Linked DNA regions of Homo sapiens: regions 1 and 3 are each linked to region 2. The links are contacts of gene promoters, found by promoter capture Hi-C in human tissues and cell types (Jung and others, 2019). All regions are on one chromosome and are shown on one strand. Each heading gives the region's core, a stretch centred on a gene start or on the middle of the fragment in contact. The rest is flanking DNA. Distances are from core to core; before and after follow the strand shown.

Region 1 (4,098 bases), core at 723-3,222, 130 kb before region 2:
GCAATGAGAATGGCAGATCCTAACAACACACACATTTATGAATGAATCTCACAAACATAATATTCAATGAAAGCCACAAGACAATACATTTCATACAATGCCACTTATATAAAGTACAAAAGCAGACAGAACTAATATATGCTGTTAAAGTTAGGCTAGTGATTATCCTTTAGCAGGATAAGGTAATGACCTGAAGGACGCATGAAGAAGGTGACTGGGGAACTGGCCATGCTCTATGTCCTGACCTGGATGCTAATTATATACATGTGTTCAGTTTGTGAGAATTCAGTGAGCTGTACACTCAGATATTTATAAATCAATCATAAACATCAATAGACAGAATAGAAAGTCCAAATATAGACCCATGTCAACTGATGTTCTTCAAAGATGCCAAGACAATTCGATGATGGGGGAAAAAAGATAGCCTTGTCTAGACTGGAAAATAAGAAATCCAGCCAGAATGAATGGGATATCATTATGAAAAAAGAATAATAATAAGTCTCAACCCTTACCTCACATCATACACAAAAATTGGCCTCAAACGGAGCAGAAACATAAAAATTAAATACAATAACGTAAAAACTAGATACCATTAGGAAAATGAAAGGGCAAGAGACAGACTGGGAGAAAATATTAACAACCCATATGACCAACAAAAGACCTGCATCTAGAATAAAGAACTCTACAACTCAATTTAAAAAAAAAACCCAATCCAATTAAAAAATTGATATTTGGCTGAGCACAGCAGCTCACAACTGTAATCCCAACACTGGGAAGCCAAGGTGGGAGGATGACTTGTGTCCAGGTGTTCAAGATCAGCCTGGGCAAAACAGTGAGACCCTATCTCTATAAAAATTTTTAAAATTAACTTTTAAATAGACACCTTACCAAAAAAGACATCACATGGCCAATAAGCACAGAAAAACATGCTCAGTATCAATAATCATTGGTACAATGCACAATGCACATGAAAACCACAGTAAGGTACCACCACATACCTACTAGAATTGCTAAAATTAAAAAGACTGACAATACTAAGTGCTAGCAAGGAGGTGGAAGTAGCAGTAGTAAGTAGTGTTTTCCTGACTCCTGGAGACATTCTAGCAAATTATTATTATTTTGAGACAGGGTCTACACTCTGTCACCCAGGCTGGAGTGCAGTGGCACAATCACAGCTCACTGCAGCCTCAACCTCCCAGGTTCAAGCGATCCTCCCACCTCAGCCTCCCCAAGTAGCTGGGACTACAGGCATGCGCCACCAAGCCTGGCTCATTTTGTTTAATTTTTTGTACAGCTGGAATCTCAGTCTGTTGCTCAGGCTGGGCTTGAACTCCTGGCCTCAAGTGATCTGCCTGCTTCAGCCTCCCAAAGTGCTGGGATTACAGGATTACAGGCCTCTAGCAAATTACTGAACCTGCAAAGGGAACCCCCGATTTATTTATTAGTCAGAAATATAGGTGACAACCTTTGATTTGCAACTCATGGATAAGGTAGGAGTAGTCTTGTGGGACTGAGCCCTTAACCTGTGGGGTCTTTGCTAATTCTGGGGAATTAAGCGTTGGGATTGAATCGAACTGTAGAATAGCCAGTTAGCATCAGAATTGGGATTGATGTGGGGAAAAAAAAAAAAAACCCACACATTAGGTGTCATCAGTGTCATGTGTAACAACAGCTCAGAGTATCACACACAGGTCAATTTTTGTGTATGATGTGAGGTAAGGGTTGAGACTTATTATTATTCTTTTTTCATAAGGATATCCCATTCATTCTGGCTGGATTTCCTATTTTCCAGTCTAGACAAGGCTATCTTTTTTTCCCCATCATCGAATTGTCTTGGCACCTTTGAAGAACATCAGTTGACATGGGTCTATATTTGGACTTTCTATTCTGTCTATTGATGTTTATGATTGATTTATAAATATCTGAGTGTACAGCTCACTGAATTCTCACAAACTGAACACACGTATATAATTAGCACCCAGGTCAGGAAATAGAGCATGGCCAGTTCCCCAGTCACCTTCTTCATGTGTCCTGCAGGTCATTACCTTATCCTGGCTAATTTTTTATTTTTTATAGCGATGGGGTCTCGCAATGTTGCCCAGCCTGGTCTCAAATCCTGGGCTCAAGCGATCCTCCAGCCACAGCCTACCGAAGTGCTGGGATTACAGGCGTGGGCCCCCACACCCAGCCCCTACTCCTTAAGTGTGAGCTGTGTGTAGTGACTTCCTTCCAAAGAGTCCAGTATGGAAAGAGAGGAAAAAAAAGTAACTTTACAGTGGAGAAACCTGACGAACACCATCTCAGCCAGGTGATCAAGGTCAACATCAACAGTGACAAGTCACGCTGATATTAAGAGCATGAAATTTTGACAGGACCCGATGAGAATGGTACTTCACTTCTGTGGTCTTCCTCTCTAAAATGCATAATCCCAATCTAATCATGACACAAACATCAAACACTTCCAGTGGAGGAACATTCTACAAATACCTGACCAGTGCTTCTCAAAGCTGTCAAGATCATCAAAAGCAAGGAAAGTCTAAGAAACTGTCACAGCCAAGAGCAACCTAAGGAAATATGACAACTAAATGTGATGTCATATCCTGGATGGGATCCTGAAACAGAACATGTCAGTAGGTAAAAAATAAGACAGTGAAAGCATGGACTTGAGTTAGTAACAGTGTATTAAAATTGCTTCATTAATTGCAACAAATGTACTGCAGTCATGTTAGATGCTGTTAATTGGGGAATCTGGACGTGTGTATGCGTATGTACATGTGTGTGTGCGCATGTGTGCAAGTGTGCATGTGTGCACGTGTGCCCATGTGTATGTGTGTGCACGTGCATGTGTGTGCGTGTGCCTGCATGTGTGTGCACGTGTGTGCGCGTGTGGGGGCGGAAGGGGTAACATGGGAACTGTCTGTCCTACCTTGGCAATAATTCCATAAGTCCAAAATTGTTCTAAAAAATAATGTCTATAATAAAAAAAAAAACAAAAAAGGTTACAGAACAGTGACGAGGTAAACTCTTTTTGGTAAAATTGTGTGTATGTGGATAAATGTGTATTTAAGAGTCTGGAATGATGTCAACTAATACAGTATAATTATCTTTCTTTAATAATAAATTATGGTATAATTTATTTCTCTTCTTTTCACCTGGTTGTAATCTTTAAATTTTCTGCAAAGAATGATGATATGAAAAACATTTATGAGGAAAAGTAAAAGCTTACTTTTTATATTAAAATATTAGTGACTTTAAAAAAGGATTAAACTGACAGTAGCTAGGATTCTTAATCCACTTCTTTTTTTTTATTTTTTTTATTTTTTTTTATTTTTTTTTTGAGATGGAGTCTCGCTCTGTTGCCAGGCTGGAGTACAGTGGCGCAATCTCAGCTCAGTGCAACCTCTGCCTCCCGGGTTCAAGTTATTCTCCTGCCTCAGCCTCTCGAGTAGCTGGGACTACAGGTGCCCACCACCACACCCGGCTAACTTTTTGTATTTTTAGTAGAGATGGGGTTTCAACATGTTGGCCAGGATGTTCTTGATCTCTTGACCTCATGATCCACCTGCCTCAGCCTCCCAAAGTGCTGGGATTACAGGTGTGAGCCACTGCGCCTGGCCTCTTAATCCACTTCTAAGCACAGGCACTGGTGCTATGTCTGGTTCACTTTCTATTCTTTGTTCAGATTATTAATATGTCATTTGTGATTTCCACCATCAGGCAACTCTAAAGGGCTGAATATGAAATTTTTCCAGGTTGATGTATAATATAAATATGTTACAGAAGACAGGGACAAATCAAAAAGAAATGTCACTAATGTCAGTAACCACAGAAAAATACAAAGTTTTGAAGACTCAGGGTAAAATTTTTCAAAAATTAATTCACAAATAAAACAGCTTTTACAGAATCCTGAAAGGGCTCATTCTATTACTCGGTTATTTGCTTCGTTATCTGAAATCTTGTGGCTTTTCATGTCTTTATTTAAAAAAAAAATAGTGGCACCAGTGCCGGGCACAGTCACTCACTCCTATAATCCCAGCACTTTGGGAGGCCGAGGCAGGTGGATCACCTGAGGTCAGGAGTTCAAGACCAGCCTGGCCA
Region 2 (4,456 bases), core at 1,523-4,022:
CAGAGGTTGCAGTGAGCCAAGATCACGCCATTGCACTCCAGCCTGGTGACAGAGCAAGACTCCATCTCAAAAAAAAAAAAAAAAAAAAAAAAAGTGATTTTGTTCCTGATGGTGGCCTAACCAGGCTGCTGTGACCCTGTGCTTCCCTCGTTCTCCTAATCAGGCTTCTGGATTCCCAAGGTGGAGCTAAACTTATACGATGCCAGTCAAGATACAGAGATGGGGGGCTGGGAGCAGTGGCTCATGCCAGTAATCCCAGCACTTTGGGAGGCCAAGACAGGCAGATCACTTGAGGCCAGGAGTTTGAGACCAGCCTGGCCAACATGGCAAAACCCTGTCTCCACTAAAAATACAAAAAATTAGCCAGGCGTAATTGTGCACACCTGTAATCCCAGCTACTTGGGAGGCTGAGGCAGGAGAATCGCTTGAACCTGGGAGGCAGAGGTTGCAGTGAGCCAAGATCACACTGCTGCACTCCAGCCTGGACTATGAAGCAAGTCTTCATCTCAAAAATAAAAAGATACAGAGATGGAGGACAGAGCTTGCAACACAAAACTATGTGACCAAAGAAGCCGAGTGAATGTTAGAATCCATATACACAGCACACACCCCCCGTCCCCAGCCCTTGGGCTCAACCTGGAAGCAAGAACAGCCTGGACTTCTCAGTTCCAAGTCCTATTTCTACAAGGCATGCCTGTTGGCCATACCTATATGCTAACGTTTTAGCTCCTTGGTAAGCCTCATTGACGTGAGCAGCTGTAAACACCTGTATACTGGCCCTTGAGGAAGCAATCCAGCTCCTCGGAGATAAATAGCAGCCTGGTTTTTTATTTTTTTCAGACGAAGTCTCACACTGTCGCCTGGATGGAGTGCAGTGGCACAATCTCGACTCACTGCAACCTCCACCTCCCAGGTTCAAGCAGTTCTCCTGCTTCAGCCTCCCAAGTAGCTGGGATTACAGGCCCCCGCCACCATGCACATCTAATTTTTTGTATTCTTAGTACAGACAGGGTTTCACCATGTTGGCCAGGCTGGTCTCGAACTCCTGACCTCAAGTGATCACTTTGGCCTCCCAAAGTGCTGGAATTACAGGTGTGAGCCATCATGCCCAGCCCAGCCTGGTTTTTTATTTGGTTTTGTTTTAGAGACAGGGTCTGGCTCTGTCACCCAGATTGGAGTGCAGTGGCACAATCACAGTTCACTGCAGCCTTGAACTCCTGGGCTCAAGCAATCCTCCTGCCTCAGCCACCAGAGTATCTGAGACTACAGGCACACACCACCACACCTGGCCGATTTTTTGTTTTTGTAGAGTTGGAGGTCTTGGTATGTTACCCAGGCTGGTCTAGAACTCCTATCTTCAAGCGATCCTCCCACCTTGGCCTCCCCCAAAGTACTGGGAACACAGGCATGAGCTACCATGCCCAGCTAAGCAGCCCTGTTTTATGGATGAAGAAACTGGGGTTCTGAAATTAAATAATTGCAAGATTCCACGGAAACTTTGATTTGATTCCACAGTTGTCTGGCTCCTAAGTCCACATGCTTTTGTCTTCTCCACCTTTAATATTTTATGATGAAAATAGCAAACATACAGAAAAGTTGGAAGGATAATTCAGGGAAACACCTAGTCATCTATCTAAAGAATCTTTTGCTATATTTGCCTTTTCAACCCATCTCTCCACCACCTCCCTGCCCCCCGCTATTTTTTTTTTGAGATGGAGTTTCTCTCTTGTCGCCCAGGCTGGAGTGCAGTGGCCTGATCTCAGCTCACTGCAACCTCTGCCTCCCAGGTTCAAGCAATTCTCCTGCCTCAGCCTCCCAAGTAGCTGGGATTACAAGTACAAGCCACCACACCCAGGTCATTTTTGTATTTTTAGTAGAGACGGGGTTACACCATGTTGGCCAGGATCGTCTTAACCTCCTGACCTTGTGATCTGCCCGTCTCAGCCTCTCAAAGTGTTGGGATTACAGGCATGAGCCACCGCGCCTGGTCTCTTCACCCCGCTTTTTATGCAGATTGCACTGGTCCCCAATAGAAGCAGGTGGGTGCTTCATACTCACAGACACATCTTTGCCTCGGTACTTAAATTTTCTCCGCCTCTCTTCTGGAGCATCTAAGGTCGGCATATTGACTGGAAGTAGTAAGTTACCTGCAGGTTGGACAGCAACAAAGAAATTTTCAGTGCCCATTGTGTGGGTTATTATGTCAGTATCATAAGGCTCTAACCCTTAAAGGGCTCACAGTGGAGCAAAGGGCAGACCCAGGAAGCTAGCTTTTTTTTTTTTTTTTTTTTTTTTTTTTTTTTTTTTTTTTGAGACAGAGTCTCGCTCTGTTGCCCAGACTTGAGTGCAGTGGGGGGATATCAGTTCACTGCAACCTCCGCCTCCCGGGTTCAAGTGGTTCTCCTGCCTCAGCCTCCCAGGTAGCTGGGACTATAGGCGCCTGCCACCACGCCCGGCTAATTTTTGTCTTTTTAGTAGAGACGGGGTTTCACCACGTTGGCCAGGCTGGTCTTGAACTCCTGACCTTGTGATCCGCCCACCTCGGCCTCCCAAAGTGCTGGGATTACAGGCATGAGCCACCGCTCCCAGCCAGCATTTTTTATTTTTTGGGACCAGAGAAGCTGAGTGAGAGTTAGAACCCATATACACAGCACAGACTCCCCGTCCCCAACCCTTGGGCTCAACCTGGCAGCAAGAACAACAGTCTGGACTTCTCAGCTCCATGTCCTATTTCTGCAAGACCTGCTTGTTGGCATCAGAGTCTCACTCTGTCACCCGGGCTGGAGTGCATTGGCACAATCACGGCTCACTGCAACCTTGACCTCCTGGACTCAAGTGATTCACCCACCTCAGCCTCTTGAGTAGCTGGGACTACAGGCATGAGCCACCACACATGACTCACTTTTTATTTATTTTATTTATTTATTTTTTGAGACAGAGTCTCACTCTGTCACCCAGGCTGGAGTGCGGTGGCGCAATCTTGGCTCACTGCAAGCTCCGCCTCCCGGGTTCACGCCATTCTCCTACCTCAGCCTCCCGAGTAGCTGGGACTACAGGCACCTGCCACCACGCTCAGCAAATTTTTTTGTATTTTTAGTAGAGACGGGGTTTCACCGTGTTAGCCAGGATGGTCTCTATCTCCTGACCTCGTGATCCACCCACCTCGGCCTCCCAAAGTGCTGGGATTACAGGCGTGAGCCACCGTGCCCGGCCACACCTGGCTTATTTTTGGTTTTGTTTGTTTTTGTAGAGTCGGCTTTTCACCACGTTGGCCAGGCTGGTCTTGAACTCCTGACCTTGTGATCCACCCACCTCAGCCTCCCAAAGTGCTGGGATTACAGGCATGAACCTGAAGTCAGCTTCTATAAGCATCACCACACCAGCTCAGTAGGCTGTGAACACTGTGGGAGCACCAAGACCACCAATGCTGGGCATAGCAGTAAAGGAAAGCTTTTAAAAGTGCTTTGGCTTCAACTGGGTCCTCAAATGAGGCAGATGGGCTGGTTGTCATATATAGAAGCCTTTCATGCCAGGTGCAGTGGCTCACACCTATAATCCCAGCACTTTGGAAGGCTGAGGCAGATGGATCACTTGAGGCCAGGAGTTCGAGATCAGCCTGGGCAACATGGGGAAACCCCATCTCTACTAGAAATACAAAAATTAGTCAGGCATGGTGGCGGACACCTATAATTCCAGCTATTTGGGAGGCTGAAGCAGGAGGATCACTTGAATCCGGGAGGCGGAGGTTGCAGTGAGCTGAGATTGCGCCACTGTACTCGAGCCTGGGCAACAGAGTAAGATTCCGTCTCAAAAAGAAAAAGAAAAGAAGGCTTTCACACGGTGTGTCTGAGGAGTTATAAATCAGGCATATGTACAGGGTGGTGAGGAGACCCGCCAAGGCTGCAACAGGAAAACCCCACACCCAATGCACCAGCACATGGGGTCAGGACAGTCTCAAGCACAAGTCACTGAGAATCCTTCAGTAGACTGCCTCCACCCCAGTCCAGACCACTATCACCTCTTACCCACACTACTGCAGTTGCCTTCCAGCTGGTCTCCCTGCTTCTCCCATTGCCTTATTCCAATCTGTTCTTTGCACAGAGTACATGTGATTGTGGATCACCTGAGGTCAGGAGTTCGAGACCAGCCAGACCAACATGGCGAAACCCTGTCTCTACTAAAAGTACAAAATTAGCCAGGCGTAGTGGCAGGCACCTGTAGTCCCAGCTACTCAGGAGGCTGAGACAGGAGAATCGCTTGAACCCAGGGGGCGGAGGTTGCCGTGAGCCAAGATCGCACCACTACACTCCAGCCTGGGCAACAGAGCGAGACTCCAACTCAAAAAAAAAAAAAAAAAAAAAAAAAAAAGAAAAAAATCTGATTAGTCAGGCACAGTGGCTCATGCCTGTAATCTCAACAACTTGAGAGGTTAAGGTGGAGACTTGCTTAAGGCCAG
Region 3 (4,671 bases), core at 1,877-4,376, 140 kb after region 2:
TCCTGACCTCATGATCCACCGCCTCGGCCTCCCAAAGTGCTGGGATTACAGGCGTGAGCCACCACGCCTGGTCAATGTTCCTTCTTTAAAGCTTATTTGCCAACCAAATCTGTGTCTTGGTGTAATATTTTACTTGTTTAAACTGTTGAAGTCAAAACTCACCAGAATCTTAGAAGTCTAATCAGCTATTGCACATTTTTTAAATTACTTCTTGCTGACCCAGTCAAAACACAGGTTTATTTTATGGCCAAAACTTATTTTAACTACTCCTTCCTGTTTGTTTTGATAAGGAAACAATTATTCTCCAGCCTGGCCAAGATGGTGAAACCCCATCTCTACTAAAAATACAAAAATTAGCCAGGCACAGTGGCAGGTACCTGTAATCCCACCTACTTGGGAGGAAGCAGGAGAATTACTTGAACTCGGAGGGCAGAGGTTGCAGTGAGCCAAGATCGTGCCACTGCACTCCAGCCTGGGCGGCAAAGTGAGATTCTATCTCAAAAAAAAAAAAAATTATTTTTCTGTGTGGCATGTGTTCAGCATGACTGGTAAATATCCTTCAACGTAAAGTTGTCATTTACTACTAAACTGGCAGTGTTTGTGTTTCTACTAAAAATAGCAGAGTATACATGACTCTTTGTAGCTGTTTTGTTATTTGTATTCTGCTGAAATTGAAAGAAGGGGATTATCATGTTACCTTTGTAATTTAGTAAAACTTCAGAAATTTTATTCTTCAAAAAGAGATTGGGAATTTGCGGTAAAATTGAGTTATGGGCCAGGTACAGTGGCTCATGCCTGTAACCCCAGCACTTTGGGAGGCCGAGGCAGGTGGATCACCTGAGGTCAGGAGTTCGAGACCAGCCTGACCAACACGGATAAACCCTGTCTCTACTAAAAATACAAAAAAATTAACGGGGTGTGGTGGTGCATGCCTGTAATCCCAGCTACCTGGGAGGCTGAGGCAGGAGAATCTCTTGAACCCAGTAGGCAGAGGTTGCGGTGAGCCGAGATCACGCCATTGCACTCCAGCCTGGGCATCAAGAGTGAAACTCCGTCTCAAAAAAAAAAAAAAAAATTGAGTTACGAATTTGAAACATACATTTTTCTTTCAAATGTGAAATCAAGGCTAACAAAATGTTACCTGCTAGAAACTATTTGGAAGTTTCATTGTAATGAGATAGGAAACTAACTTCATTAATATTCTCTCAAGGCTAAACTTTATGTCAGCTGGTACTCCTTGCAATCTTACAAATTTCTACAGGAAACTTTTCTTCCAAGTTAAGCTTCAACCTCAGTAATTGTTTACATTTTTATTCGTTGAGAATTAGTGTCAAGTATAGGTAAATTGGACTTTATTATGGTACAAGGTATTGTCTTTGAACAAGCTGTATGTTTAGGGCAGTTTCTCAGCTGTAGAACAATTATTTCATATTTCATAGGAGTACTTTAAAACAACTTCTCAGAAGTTTATAATTCAGCCATATGAACTAATTATTTTGCTTGCCATCTTTTCCTTAATTAAAAAAATTACATTATAAAGGCCAGGCACGGTAGCTCACGCCTGCAATCCCAGCACTTTGCGAGGCCAAGGCAGGCGGATCACGAAGTCAAGAGTTCGAAACCATCCTGGCCAACATGGAGAAACCCCATCTCTACTAAAAATACAAAATATTAGCCAGGTGTGGTGGTGCATGCCTATAATCCCAGCTACTTGGGAGTCTGAGGCAGGAGAATCGCTTGAACCAGGGAGGTAGAGGTTGCAATGAGCCGAGACCATGCCACTGCACTCCAGCCTGGGCAACAGAGCAAGACTCTGTCTCAAAAAATATGTATACATTATGAAACAATTCGAAATACTGTCTTTTTCTCCTTTTTTAGAGACTTTGTGGGGGATTTTGGTTTTTTATTTTATTTATTTATTTATTTTTTGAGACAGGGTTTCTCTCTGTCACCCAGTCTGGAGTACAGTGGTACAAACACGGCTCACTGCAGTCTCCAACTCCTGGGATCCAGCAGTCTTGCCACTTCAGCCTCCCAAGTAGTTGGGACTACAGGTTTGCACCACCACACCTGGCTAATTTTTTGATTACTTGTGGAGACAGGTTCTCACTTTTCTTGCCCAGGCTGATCTCAAATTCCTGTACTCAAGCAATCCTTCTGCTTTGGTCTTCCAAAGTGCTGGGAGTATAGTTGCAAGCCTCTGCACCTGGCTGTCTTTTTCAGAATGAACTTCTTCAGACAGGATACTAAGAAAGTGATTCTGTAGCCAGGCGTGGTGGCTCATGCCTGTAATCCTAGCACTTTGGGAGGCTAAGGCAGGCAGATCACCTGAGACCAGGAGTTTGAGACCAGCCTGGCCAACATGGTGAAAGCTAATCTCCTCTAAAATTACAAAAATTAGCCGGGCGTGGTGGCGTGAGCCTATAATCCCAGCTATCGGGAGGCTGAGGCACAAGAATTGCTTGAACACAGGAGGCAGAGGTTGCAGTGAGCTGACATTGCGCCACTGCACTCCAGCCTGGATGACAGAGTAAGACTCTGTCTCAAAAAAATAAAAAATAAATAAATAAAAGAAAGTGATTCTTGCTTGACCCCGGGAGGTGGAGGTTGCGGTGAGCTGAGATCACGCCATTGCACTCCAGCCTGGACAACAAGAGCGAAACTCCATCTCAAAAAAAAAAAAAAAAGAAAGAAAGTGATTCTATAGAAAGGTAATTTAGCATTGAAGGAAAGGCATTGGCTCAATATTTAGTCTCCCAACTGTTGAGCAACCAGACGTGATTGGTTTTTAAACAGCAGTTTGGGGGCAGAAATGAATTAGTTAAGCCAAAATACTGACTGGTCCTAGACATAAATCATCTTTTTTGGATGGTGCTAGCGAATTAGAGGCTAATCCCCAACATGAGGTTCTTCTAATTTCTTGGTTGTGATTTTTCAGTGAAAGAAATTAAAAAGAATTTGCAGATTCGTGGAGACTTGGGAAGGATATTAAGCTGTCTTACAACCCCAAATTCACCAAAAATTCAGCAAATCACTGAATATTCATAATAAAAATTGAAGTATTTTCAAACTTCAGTTTTTATCTCAGAGGTTAACGTCCTATGTAATCCGAAATCTCACGAAAACATAACTGAGTTAATCAATATCTATGCTTACTAATGAGGACTGCTGAAAACCAGCTGTTGTGCTGAGAACATCAGGGCCAGGAGTGGAGAAGGCCTGTTCATGGTTCTTTTCCTTTCTGTCCTTTAGCAATGCACCTTGTCAGCTGGGCGTAGTGGCTCATGCCTGTAATCCCAGCACTTTGGGAGGCTGAGGCCGGTAGATCACTTGAGCCCCAGAGTTTGAGACCAGCCTGGGCAACATGGAGAAATCTCATCTCTACAAAAAATACAAAAATTAGCCAGTCTCAGATCATAACCTGGTATCAAAAAACCTTGTCTCTGGCAGAAGGCCTGGTGACCGACAGAAGAACGTTGAATGCTCTGTTACTTTTCTATAGAATCTTTTTTTATAGAAACCTATCTGAAAAAGTTTATTCTGAAAAAAATAATATTCTGAATTGTTTTATAATTTTTTTTTAAATTAAGGAAAAGTGTGGCCTACTTAGGTATTTTCACCTGACATACATTTGTAGGTCATTTGGGGATGCTGGTTGAGTGGATAAACTGAAACAGTTTTCCCCTCTCATAGGTGGGTGAGCAAGCACATTAAAAAGCCGATTCGCTCCACAGTCCTCAGCTTGGATTGGCATCCCAACAACGTTTTGCTGGCAGCAGGATCATGTGACTTCAAATGCAGGTGGGAACCAGTGAGAACTGATAAACTTGAGCCGTGCATTCTTCATCCTTCAACAAATAATTTTAGGTTCTCTTTCTTTGTTTTTTGTTTTGTTGTGGTTGTTGTTGTTTTGAGACAGGGTCTCACTCTCACCCAGGCTGGAGTGCAGTGGCACCATCATAGCTCACTGCAGCCTCCAATTCCTGGGCTCAAGCGATCCTCCAGCCTCAGCCTCCAGAGTAGTTGGGACTACAGGTATATGCCACCACACCTGGCTAATTTTTTTAAAATTGTCTTTATTCTTTGTAGAGACGGGGTCTTGCTACATTGCCCAGGTTGGTCTTGAACTCCTGGCCTCAAGTGATCCTCCCTCCTTGGCCTCCTGAAGTGCTGGGATTACAGGCATGAGCCAGTGTGCCTGGCCTGTAAGTTTCCTTTTCTTTGCAAGGTACTGCGCTAGGCACTGTGAGGGACTCAAAAATGAGGCCTGGTGCTGTGGCTCACACCTGTAATCCCAGCACTTTGGGAGGCTGAGGTGGGCGGATCACCTGAGGTTGGAAGTTCAAGACCAACTTGGCCAACATGGTGAAACCCCGTGTCTACTAAAAATACAAAAGAGGCCGGGCGCAGTAGCTCACGCCCGTAATCCCAGCACTTTGGGAGGCTGAGGTGGGCGGATCACAAGGTCAGGAGATCGAGACCATCCTGGCTAACACAGTGAAACCCCGTCTCTACTAAAAAAATACAAAAAATTAGCCGGGCGTGGTGGCGGGTGCCTGTAGTCCCAGCTACTCGGGAGGCTGAGGCAGGAGAATGGTGTGAACTCGGGAGGCGGAGCTTGCAGTGAGCCGAGATCACACCACTGCACTCCAGCCTGGGCGACAGAGCGAG

The links. The method cuts DNA at HindIII sites, captures the fragments that hold promoters and counts their contacts. A contact is called where the count stands out against the background at its distance.
Region 1: a contact is called between a fragment that was not itself captured here and the fragment with the promoter of KPNA7 in region 2, in 1 of the 25 tissues and cell types used here (H1 embryonic stem cells).
Region 3: a contact is called between a fragment that was not itself captured here and the fragment with the promoter of KPNA7 in region 2, in 1 of the 25 tissues and cell types used here (aorta).

Annotation. Positions count from the first base shown.
Region 1 is chr7:99,074,015-99,078,112 of GRCh38, forward strand. All of the region lies in intron 1 of SMURF1 (SMAD specific E3 ubiquitin protein ligase 1), which reads right to left. Among named protein-coding and RNA genes, the nearest start is that of SMURF1, 68 kb to the right of the region's middle. The HindIII fragment of the contact is 3,837 bases long and covers 55-3,891 here.
Region 2 is chr7:99,205,343-99,209,798 of GRCh38, forward strand. KPNA7 (karyopherin subunit alpha 7) reads right to left here and starts at 2,773. Exons shown (of 11, transcript NM_001145715.3): 1 at 2,686-2,773; 2 at 2,059-2,147. The coding sequence starts at 2,124. The HindIII fragment of the contact is 15,790 bases long and covers 1-4,456 here.
Region 3 is chr7:99,345,159-99,349,829 of GRCh38, forward strand. It overlaps ARPC1A (actin related protein 2/3 complex subunit 1A), which reads left to right. Exons shown (of 10, transcript NM_006409.4): 5 at 3,694-3,801. Among named protein-coding and RNA genes, the nearest start is that of ARPC1A, 22 kb to the left of the region's middle. The HindIII fragment of the contact is 4,878 bases long and covers 688-4,671 here.